Regions from separate parts of the Homo sapiens genome. Here region 1 is linked to region 2. The links are contacts of gene promoters, found by promoter capture Hi-C in human tissues and cell types (Jung and others, 2019). All regions are on one chromosome and are shown on one strand. The core of a region is centred on a gene start or on the middle of the fragment in contact, and the rest is flanking DNA. Distances in the headings are between cores, read along the strand shown.

Evidence for each region. Contacts are between HindIII fragments. The study calls those that stand out against the background at their distance.
Region 1: a fragment that was not itself captured here is called in contact with the fragment with the promoter of C8orf76 in region 2 in 3 of the 25 tissues and cell types used here (H1 embryonic stem cells, dorsolateral prefrontal cortex and mesenchymal stem cells).

Annotation. Positions count from the first base shown.
Region 1 is chr8:123,128,352-123,134,079 of GRCh38, reverse strand. It overlaps TBC1D31 (TBC1 domain family member 31), which reads right to left. Exons shown (of 22, transcript NM_145647.4): 14 at 5,567-5,728; 15 at 4,862-5,014; 16 at 3,747-3,882. Among named protein-coding and RNA genes, the nearest start is that of TRM-CAT1-1, 26 kb to the left of the region's middle. The HindIII fragment of the contact is 4,422 bases long and covers 1,022-5,443 here.
Region 2 is chr8:123,239,320-123,244,828 of GRCh38, reverse strand. It overlaps C8orf76 (chromosome 8 open reading frame 76), which reads left to right and starts at 3,452. Exons shown (of 6, transcript NM_032847.3): 1 at 3,452-3,599. The coding sequence starts at 3,483. All of the region lies in intron 2 of ZHX1-C8orf76 (ZHX1-C8orf76 readthrough), which reads left to right. RefSeq lists a silencer at 3,546-3,665 and an enhancer at 3,166-3,666. The HindIII fragment of the contact is 18,562 bases long and covers 1-5,509 here.

The DNA.
Region 1 (5,728 bases), core at 1,983-4,482, 110 kb after region 2:
GAATTTACAAAATAATTTTTAATATATTTAGTAATCCTGTAATCTGAACGACCTACTAACAGTATTTAAAATAACAGCAACTGGGTTTTTGAAACCAGAGTAACAGACAAAGATTAATATTCACTGCAGAACCTAGGAATAATCTCTCAGTTAAAGTTAAGTTTAATTTAAAAATAAAAAGCACAATACCATATGCCCATCTACTCAGACTGGAAGAACAGATAGCAGTTCTTACAGTATTACAGTAACCAATATCATGAGTTAGAAAAACTTGAGCAATTTAAATCTGGGGTAGATAAAAATATAACATTTATTTAATGCTCTTTTTGACTAAACTTCTCTACTTTTATAAGTATGGTTTGACAATTAACAATTCTAGGTTTAAATTTCTTGCAGATGGTTCAACCTGTATGTGTTCTGCTCCAAGTGAATTAATTTAGAGTTCACCTATTTCCAAAATTTGATTAGTTGGAGGCTTTTTATTCCTATATACTAGAGGCTTTGGATATGGGATATGGAACTCTCTAGAGACTCTTAGAAATGATCTTAGATATAAAGTGAAATGTTAGATATTGTCATTATGGTAAAAGACATGCTATCGAATACCTAAAATAGGAGAAACACTAAATGAGAATACAGTTGGATGTGCAAACATATATATCCAAAGACTAAAAGAGAAACATGGACCAGGACCAGTTCAATTTAAAGAGGTTATTGGGAAAGGAGCTAGCTCAAAGGTTGGGGGAAGCTTGATTGTGTGAAGCAAGAACAGTAATAATGCCAGGAAGTGGAGGAGAGGTGTGGCCTAGCAAATCACGCTTTTTAGGAATTTCAATTACAGAGCTCTTTTGCTTATGAATTTTCAGAGATACAAACAGCTATGTGCCACAGCAAAAACCGATCAGCTTTGCTTGCTGCTAACAGATGTTCACAGTCACATGTACTTGTCACTTCAGATTCAAGCAGCCTTTCCTGCTAGAGTCTGAACCATGAGAAGAGCTTTTGCAGTTTGGCAGGGTCAGAGCACAACATCAGAACAGGTAGCTGGGAGGACAGGAGGCTGCAAGGGTAGGCGGAGGCCAGATCATGTTGCTGAAAGGAGTCTATAGAATTCTTGGACCAAAAAATGCCTCCTCCTGTTTCAAAGGGGTTTGGAATAAAGACATCAGAGTTCTGAGCTTACTTTGCGGGAAGAACATACACTTTTCTACAGTAATGAAATATCAATGTCATTCACTAGATGAGAAAATTAAAAGAAATCTTGGATTTTGAAAACCAATTTAAAATTAACAAGCTTTAAACAAAACAAGAAGTATCATGCTATAAAGAGATGATAGATTTCTAATACTATTGAATTAAAAATACTTTGAAAGACTTAGGCCAGGTGCCTGTAATCCCAGCACTTTGGGAGGCCAAGGTGGGCAGACCACTTGAAGTCAGGAGTTGAAGATCAGCCTGACCAACATGGTGAAACCCTGTCTCTACTAAAAATACAAAAATTAGATGGGTGTTGTGGCAGGCACCTGTAATCCCATCTGCTCAGGAGGCTGAGGCATGAGAATTGCTTGAATCCGGGAGGTGGAGGTTGCAGTGAGCCGGGATCGCACCACTGTACTCCAGCCCAGGTGACAGAATGAGACCCTGTCTCAAAAAAAAAAAAAAAAAAAAAAAAAAAAGACTTAAAAAATACTTAGTATTTTATCAAAACTAGGCTTGAAACTCTAAATTAGTGCATAAAGTCAGTGTAATCCTAATAAAAATTCCAATAGGATTGGGAGAGGTGAGAATTCCAAAAGTGAAACAATTCTTAGAGTCTACTTGGAATGATAAACATTTGAGAATACTGAGGAAAACTCTGAAAAGGAAGACTAATGAGTGAGAACTAGGCCTAGTTGGTAAAACACTTCAAAGCTACTGTCATTCAAACAGTGTGGTACTGGCTTAGGAATAGAAAAAGCGAGGAAGGAGATCAAATATGTAAGAGAATTTAATATGTAAAAACCATCAGTTGGCAAATGACTTGGATAATAGTCAACAAATGGTGTTGGGACAATTGACTTGCCTTTTGGAAATAAGTAAGCTAACCTGACAGAAAGTTAAGTCTAACTTGACAAAAAGATGGACAAATGATACAAATATGTAATGTGTAATTCTACACATGGAAGATAAGTAACAGAAAAGATACTTAACCTCACTAACAATAAAAAAAGGCAAATTAAAATAGACGATTTGTCATCTATCTGCTTGGCAAATATTAAGACTGATGCAGTACAATTGACTATACTAGGGAGTGGGTACTCTTACAGACTTAAAACAGCTGAAACTGTTTCATTTTTAGAGAACAATTTGTCATAATTTAGAAGTTACTCAACAAAAGTATGTGTGCAAGTACTCAAAGACTTTTACAATGTAGCATGGTTTTGTAATTTGCAAAACACTGCAAATAACCGAAATGTCCAATAGCAAAGGATTAAATAAGCTATTAATTCAATGGAATATTATACAACCACAAAAAGAGAAATAGATACACATATAACAAATATGAAAAGATATTCAGCATATGAAATTTTAAAAAGCAGGTTACAAAAACAATGTATAATGAGAATAATCCCATTTTTGTATAAATATAGGAAAACATGACTATAATTACTCCTCTATCTATAGAACATACCTGAAAGTCTATGTAATTAACCTTTTTTTTTTTTTTTTTTTTTTTGAGACTGAGTCTCACTCTGTCGCTCAGGCTGGAGTGCAGTGGCATGATCTCGGCTCACTGCAGCATCCACCTCCCAGGGTCAAGCAATTCTCCTGCCTCAGCCTCCTGCGTAGCTGGGATTACAAGCGCCTGCCACCATGCCCAGCTAATTCTTGTATTTTTAGTAGAGACAGGGTTTCACCATGTTGGCCAGGCTGGTTCCGAACTCCTGACCTCAGGTGATCTGCCTGCCTCGGCCTCCCAAAGTGCTGGGATTACGGGCATGAGCCACCGCACCCAGCCAATTAACCATTTTTTAATAGTGTTTCTCTGGGGATGACATGAGAACTAATGGAGAAGGTCAATTTTTAATTCTGTATGTTTTGTACTGGAAATTATTTTTATACTGGCCACAGATAATTTTTATATGAAAAAAGAATATGTCCCCTAATTAAAAATTAACTGCCGGGCTTGGTGGCTCACGCCTGTAACCCCAGCACTTTGGGAGGCCAAGGTGGGCAGATCACCTGAGGTCACGAGTTTGAGATCAGCCTAGCCAACATGATGAAATCCCGTCTCTAAGAAAAATACAAAAATTAGCTGGGTGTGGTGGCGTGCACCTGTAATCCCAGCTACTTGGGAGGCTGAGGCAGGAGAATCACTTGAACCCGGGAGGCGGAGGTTGCACTGAGCTGAGGTCACGCCACTGCACTCCAGCCTGGGCAACAGAGCAAGACTCTGTCTCAAAAAAAAAAAAAAAAGAAAAGAAAAGAAAAAATAACTTAATGGCTAACTGATACTGATATTTCTAGTTTTAGAGAAATAGTCACCAAGGACACTTGACTAATTTTCCTGGCATTTCTTAAATATTTAGCCATTCATGAAATACAAAAGAGAATGAGAAAGCTGAGGGGAAAAGTAAATAAAATTAAAGCGGCTATTTAGTATTCATGGTGGACTCTAAGAATATTATTTAATTTGAAGGTGTTCATTACATTTAAGTGAGAGTAAATGGAGATGATGTATGAGAACTAAGTTAAGAATAATAAACCTTTCTCCCAATTTCATCATCCAGTCTTCTTAGTTCCATTTCCTGTTGATCTTGCTGAAGCTTCAGAAAACGCCTTCTTGCAGCATCTTGTAAGTGCATTTCCTTTACTTTCAGCTCTCTTTTCACAGCAGCTAGCCTTAAATACAAAATACATCAAGTGGAACAAATACAGCAATTCCTAATATGATTTAGTTTTTTCATAACAGGTCTGCCATGCTGATCATTTCAATACAATTGATATCCTTTATTTGAAAGAAGAATGCGAGAACTGCTCCACCGTTACCAAAGATGATGTATACTTATGCTTTAAGAATTTTAGTAGAAAGCTCACTGGCTCAGTTCAGTAATTCCTTTTAACCCACACTATAAATCTGTTACATAAAGTTCCATCTAAGAATAGGAATCAATAAACACAGAAGTGAGTTTCCCAACTATTGGGCTTAGTCTCAATGTTTATCCCATTACTTTACTTAATTTACACATTTTACCTTATTAACATACTTTTATGTATTTATTTTTAAGTTTTTTCTTTTTATTTTTTAAGAGACAGGGTCTCACTATGTTGCCCAGGCTGGCCTTGACCTCCTGGGCTCAAGTGATCCTACCTAGTAGCTGGGACTATAGGTATGTGGCACCACACCCAGCTAACGTACTTTTGAATACGCATTTAATACTCATTCCCCTGTCCTCCAAAGTGTTAAATGGGTAATGACATAATCATTCTATGTTACAACTGTCAGGTCACACAGGTATGTTTAAAACACAATTAAAAAAATTATACTCTACTAAAGGTGATGTACCTAGCATTCTATTACAAAGCATTTCTGCCCACTATAGAATAATGTTTCTAAATAATGTCCTTCAAGGAACATTAATCCATGCAAAGCTATATTATATTCAGCATAGCTTCAGAATTACATTTTACTACATAGCAATTTTTTTTGAAAAGTGGTATATAAAGATTCTTTTTATTAACTTAATAGTTGCTTTATAGAAATGCTACAGCTGGGTAATCCTATATATAATGTTGTTTCTAAAATGAAAAAATGAAAGAACATAAAAATTATTCAACTAACTTATATGTCCAGATTTTTTTTTAAAGTGATAACACATACCTCTGTCTTTGTTGTATCATTTTCTCCTCCTCTTGTAAGAGCATTTCTCTTCTTGTTTCTTCAGCTTTACGAAGCAGCTCCTGTTTCTGGTACCAAGCTTCATCTTCAACTCTTTGCTGGTCGACTTTAGCTTGCATATCTTCAACTGTCTGCCTTAAGTAGGTAATATTATTATGAAAACACAAAGAAGAAAGCTAAGAATCATCAAAACACAAAATGTATACCGATTAATGTATAATCTATTTTATTTCCATATGCAAGAATTAACTATCTTTAATATTTCTAGCCTTCAAACTCTGATTTTACACAAATACTCATAATTTAAATGCATTTTTTTTTTTTTGAGATGAAGTCTCACTCTGTCGCCCAGGCTGGAGTGCAATGGCATGATCTCCGCTCACTGCAACCTCCTCCTCCTGGGTTCAAGTGATTCTCCTGCCTCAGCTTCCTGAGTAGCTGGGACTACAGGGGCGTGCCACCATGCCTGGCTAATTTTTTGTATCTTTAGTAGAGACGGGGTTTCACCATGTTGGCCAGGCTGGTCTCGAACTCCTGACCTTGTGATCTACCTGCCTTGGCCTCCCAAAGTGCTGGGACTATAGGCGTGAGCCACCGCGCTCAGCCAAATGTATTTTTCATTAAAACTTTCTTATGTTTATAACATATTTCATTGTATCAGAAAAAGAAAAACTATTCCATAATTACCTCTCTCTTAAGTAATCCAATTCATCATTCCTTATTCTTTCTCGTTCCTGTGTTTGATAGTCCACAATAAACTTTGGATATTGATTAAATACTGGATACTGCCCTTTTGTCAGTGCAACAAAAACATTAAGCATGCTGTCTGGATGAATGTCAGTAGGCGTG
Region 2 (5,509 bases), core at 2,203-4,702:
TGGTCCTCTCTCTCTCTCTCTCTTTTTTTTTTTTTTGAGATGTAGTTTCGCTCTTGTTTCCTAGGCTGGAGTGCAGTGGTGTGATCTCAGCTCACCGCAACCTCTGCCTCCTGGGTTCAAGCGATTCTCCTGCCTAAGCCTCCTGAGAAGCTGGGATCACAGGCATGTGCCACCACGCCTGGCTAATTTTGTATTTTTAGTAGAGATGGGGTTTCTCCATGTTGGTCACACTGGTCTTGAACTCCCTATCTCAGGTGATCCGCCCGCCTCAGCCTCCCAAAGTGCTGGGATTACAGGCGTGAGCCACCTTGCCCGGCTCCTTTCTTTCATTTACCCATTCACCCATCCATTCAACAGGATTTGGATCTCCATAAATCAAAAAAACACATTTATTGCGGTGGTCTGGGCCAATCCCTGACTGGGGGCTGAGTTGACAAGAGTGAAAAAGACACCACCTCTAACCTCCAACAGTCCACAGAGTGCTAAATGCCACCGTGGATGGATAGAAGCATGGAAGAATTACAGGAAAGAAGGAGGGCTGCCTGGAGGAGGTGCTGGTTACCTTGTGATGGGGAACTCAATCAGTCACCTCAATCAAAAATCAGATTTTTATAGATAAAATTCTACAGAAACAGGTTTTAATCACAACCACACAATTTTGGATACTTGCAGAATTCCAGTTTCCTAACACTGCCTAACACTTGGCATTTCCTTAGTGTATAAGGTGGATTTAACAGTCACAGAGCATATAATACCCTTCTATTTTATTGGTTTACTTTTGAAAAATGACATTACCCTAGCGCCTCTCTATCAAATGAGGCAGTGGTGTGTAACTTGGGGTCCCAGACCCCTGGTCCTCAGTAGTGATAGGAGTCTTTGAAGTGTTTTCATTATTGCCAGAGGTCCGATGCTAATCATATTTTACCTTTCTTCAGGCTTCCCAGGGCCCTAAGAGCTGGTGCTTTGCTTTCAAGTGGAATTCTAATGTACAATGAGGCCATGCCAGTAGACTCAGGCTGGGTAGAAGTTTGGATTGGCTGTTATATAGGATCTGGATTCTATTTTTTAAAGGAAAAATAATTATTAGCTAATAAATGCAGTTTTATTTTATATAGAAATCCTCCACAACTTTCAGGGAGAAACTGAAAGGGTCATTAGTGGTAAAAAGGCTGGAAACACCCGAGCCCAGGAATCCTGAGTCTAAAGGGCAAATAACTACCTTTTATCCATAAGCACCCTAACACTTCCTGACCGTTTCAGCAGAAAAAAAAATTTTTTTTTTTTTGAGGCGGAGTTTCGCTCTTGTTGCCCAGGCTGGAGTGCAATGGTGTGATCTCAGCTCCCGCAACCTCCGCCCCCCAAGTTCACGGGATTCTCCTGCCTCAGCCTCCCAAGTAGCTGGGATTACAGGCATGCACCACCACACACTGCTAATTTTGTATTTTTAGTAGAGATGGGGTTTCTCCATGTTGGCCAGGCTGGTCTCGAACTCCCGACCTCAGGTGATCCACCAGCCTTGGCCTCCCAAAGTGCTGGGATTACAGGCGTGAGCCACCACTCCCGGCCAGAAAAATGTTCTTAAGTGGATCTTGATGAATTCATTCATCAGTAACTAATGCCTGGAGGCTGTTCAGCTGGAGCCTCCCACCTGAGGCTGCTGGATAAATGAGCTGGTTCTAGATTTTGGCAATAATTAGCAGAGAGATGGATTCTGAAACCTGGGGGAGTGGATTAGGTGAGTTTGTGGAGGAAAAAGTTGGGTTGAAGAAAGAACGCTGAACCTGGTCAACATGAAAGAACCCCTCTCTACTGAAAATACAAAAAAGTAGCAGTGTGTGGTGGCCCGCGGGAGGCTGAGGTGGGAGGATGGCTTGAGCCAAGGAGGTTGAGGACGCAGTGAGCCGAAATTGCGCCTCTGCACCCCAGCCTGGGCGACAGAGCGAGACCCTGTCTCAGAAATAAATAAACAGATAAAATTTTAAAAAAGAAACCTGGAAGACAGATAAATGGTGGAAGAGAAACTGGTGAGAGTGAAGAGGAACAGGAAAAAAATCGGGGAAAACCTTTATGTTTATTTCCTACTGTGTAATATGGCACAATATTGTGCTGTACAGTATTGGCCAGCATTTTGTCAACAATCTTTACTTTCTAGAGTCAAGAAATATCTTAAAAGTATAAGAATTGTAGTAAATGTTAGTCTTAGAATTTTGAGATTTGGTGTTCTCCAGGTCGAATGAATGCTCCCTGATCTAGCCTCCCACGGTATATTTCTGTGTCTTTTCTTTCATAAATGCGTGAATGACTCCGGTCTTTGTTATTGGTGGTAGTGTCTCTTGTCCGGAAGCACGGAGAGTACGCATTCATTTCTGTATTTCCCAAGTTTCAGCCACATAATGACCGAAACTTAACAAGTTACTTAACCTCTCCAAACTCCAATATCTTCAAAATAGGATTTGCAAAATGGGAATCACTTTGGCTTTCATAAGGTGGTTGTTAGCCGAAAAGAAAAAATGTGCTTAACACAGTGACGGGAATGCACAGTGGTTGACAATTGGTACTTGCACCGGGCTTAGTGGCTCACGCCTATAATCCCAGCACTTTGGGAGAACGAGGTGGGCGGATCGCTTGAGATCAGGTTCGAGACCAGCCTGGGCAACGTAGGGAAACCCAGTCTCCACAAAAAATACACAAGTTAGACGGTCATGGTGGCGCGCGCCTGTAGCCCCAGCTACTTGGGGGACTGAGGCGGGATGATAGGTTGAGTCTGGGAGTTCGAGGCTGCAGTGAGCCATGATCTCACCACTGCACTCCAACCTGGGCGACAGAGCGAGACCCTGTCTCGAAATTATTTTATTTATTTTATTTTATTTTATTTTTTATTTTGAGACGAAGTTTCACTCTTGTTGCCTAGGCTGGAGTGCAATGATGCGATCTTGGCTCACCGCAACCTCCGCCTCCCGGGTTCAAGCGATTCTCCTGCCTCAGCCTACCGAGTAGCTGGGATTACAGGCGCGCGCCACTACGGCCGGCTAATTTTTGTATTTTCAGTACAGACCTGGTTACTCAATGTTGGTCAGGCTGGTCTCGAACTCCCGACCTCAAGTGATCCGCCCACCTTGGCCTCCCAAAGTGCTGGGATTACAGGCTTGAGCCACCGCGCCCGGCCTCTTATTTTAATTTTTAAAAAGGTACCTGCGAGTTTTAAACAGCTACTCTGGGGCCAGCGTGCTTTTTGATGCGTGCAGGTAAGGATCATTCTGTCCATCTCCTGACACAGAGAAGTCAAAACCTCCGTCCTGGGGTTCGGTCAGTTAGTGGGTCAGATAATCATCTCAGCTCAACCACTACTCCCAACCAGCAGCGGCCACGTCCCCGCGTCGCCCTCAAAGACTACAAGTCCCAGCGTGCCGCGCTCTGGGCCGTGGAAGCCCCGCCTTTTCCGGCGGGCCCCGCTTCCTCGTTGCCCCCGCCGCGGGCGCGAGATGGATTCCGGGTGCTGGTTGTTCGGCGGCGAGTTCGAGGACTCGGTGTTCGAGGAGAGGCCGGAGCGGCGGTCAGGACCGCCCGCGTCCTACTGCGCCAAGCTCTGCGAGCCGCAGGTGAGAAGCTGGGGCCTCTTCGCCTTATCCCGGGCCCCAGGCCTCGCCCTCCGCGGGGCCCCGGCCCCGGCCTCGGCCCCTCCGTCCGCGCGAACGCAAACCCTGGCAGGCTCCAGCGCCCGCCGCGTCCCCCGCCGTCCCTCCTCCTCCACGGGGAAGCGGCTTTCCCAGGCCCCATTCCGGGTCCATGGGCGAGAATCCCCGCGTTGTAAGCGGCTTGACTCCCACTTGGCATTTGGCCGGCCTGGCTGCTGCCGGCTGGTCTCAACGCCCCTGCCCTGCAATCTCCGGTACCTCCCGTTTGTCTTCACTGCTCTTACAGCTGGGCAGTCAGGCCTCCCAAAACGGTGACCTCCGGCAAACCCACTCTCCCCTCCCTCTTCGGCGAGCTCCCCCTGCCCGTACCAACCCCGCGCTGATGGTTAAAGTCCTTCAGTTATATCCGTTTTTCAAGGCACATCTTAAATGTCATCTCCTCTAGGAAGTCTTTTCTGATTTCGTCTTCCAGCCAAATATTTTTGTCTTTGGCCCCCTTCCCTCTATTTAGCTTCTACTTAAAGCACTTGTCAGTATTCCCACAAAGTCCTGAGACCCGGAGTGCTAAATGATCGCACCAGCATGGGTTCTTGATGCCCTTGGCAGTGCCTAACAGTTTTTATTAATAATAGTGACTCCGCGAATATTTTTGAATTAGTAGAGTATTACTTCCTATTCTTTCATGAGTGTAAATAGTTCATCAGTCAAAACTAATATTTATGGAAAATACGGAAGTGTTCCGGGCACTGTGGTGGGTTCCTTCGCATATACTGTCTCATTCGTTCCTCACAATTGTACTGACAAGATGCCAGGCACTCGATAATTACTGAATTGTGTTTTTGGTTATTTCAGTTGCATTTTCTCCTTATCACATACGATCTTTCAAAGTTACCTTCAGCCCTGGATCATGTAGACTCAAAACAGGGATTGGGCTTGGAAATCATGTGGCAGAACATTAAAAAAACTCTGGTTATGAGATAGGACTCTTGAATTCCAGTGTTGGCTTTAACCACTTGCCTTGAAGGTGTCAGCTCCTTATTTGTCCCTTCAGAAAAATAATACATGCTGGCTCACAGAGTTATCGTGGGAGTGAAATGAGATAATGTATATGAAAATACTTTGTCAGATCTGATGTGCTGTACAGGTGCATAGAATTTAATATAAATTCTAAAATGAAGTGATTTTTTTCTTTTCTTTTTTTTTTTTTTGAGGTGGAGTTTGTTGCCCATGCTGGAGTGCAGTGGCGCGATCTCGGGTCACCCCAACCTCCACCTCCCGGGTTAAAGCGATTCTCCTGCCTCAGCCTCCCAGCTAGCTGGGATTACAGACGTGTGCCACCATGCCGGCCTAATTTTGTATTTTTAGTAGAGACAGGGTTTCTCTACTGTTGTTAGCCAGGCTGGTCTCAAACTCCTAACCTCAAGTGATCTGCCCGCCTCGGCCTCCCAAATTGCTGGGATTACAGGTGTAAGCCACTGCCTTTCCCTACGTTATTTATTCAATAGTCAAGCAATCTCAGTCTCACTTTCCTTTTTATCCATAGGATTTAAATCAGTAGAAAAGCAAATAAAGTATCCTAGATGGGCATTTCCTCAGACTTCTCTCCTACAGGTTTTTGGTATTTGGTTGCATTGGAGCCTCCTTCTAGCCTTAATTTCTGTCTCCTTTGCTGAAATTCTAGTTTTTTGCCATTATGACATTTTCATAATAGCACCATATCTATAATTCTTCTTTCCTATGTCCTTTCAGTAAAGAATTGTCAATCCCTATTCCAGTCACACTAAAGTTTATCTACAAGAAAGCATGTCTCATTTTAAAGAACCAATGTGGGCTGGGTGCGGTGGCTCACACCTGTAATCCCAGCACTTTGGGAG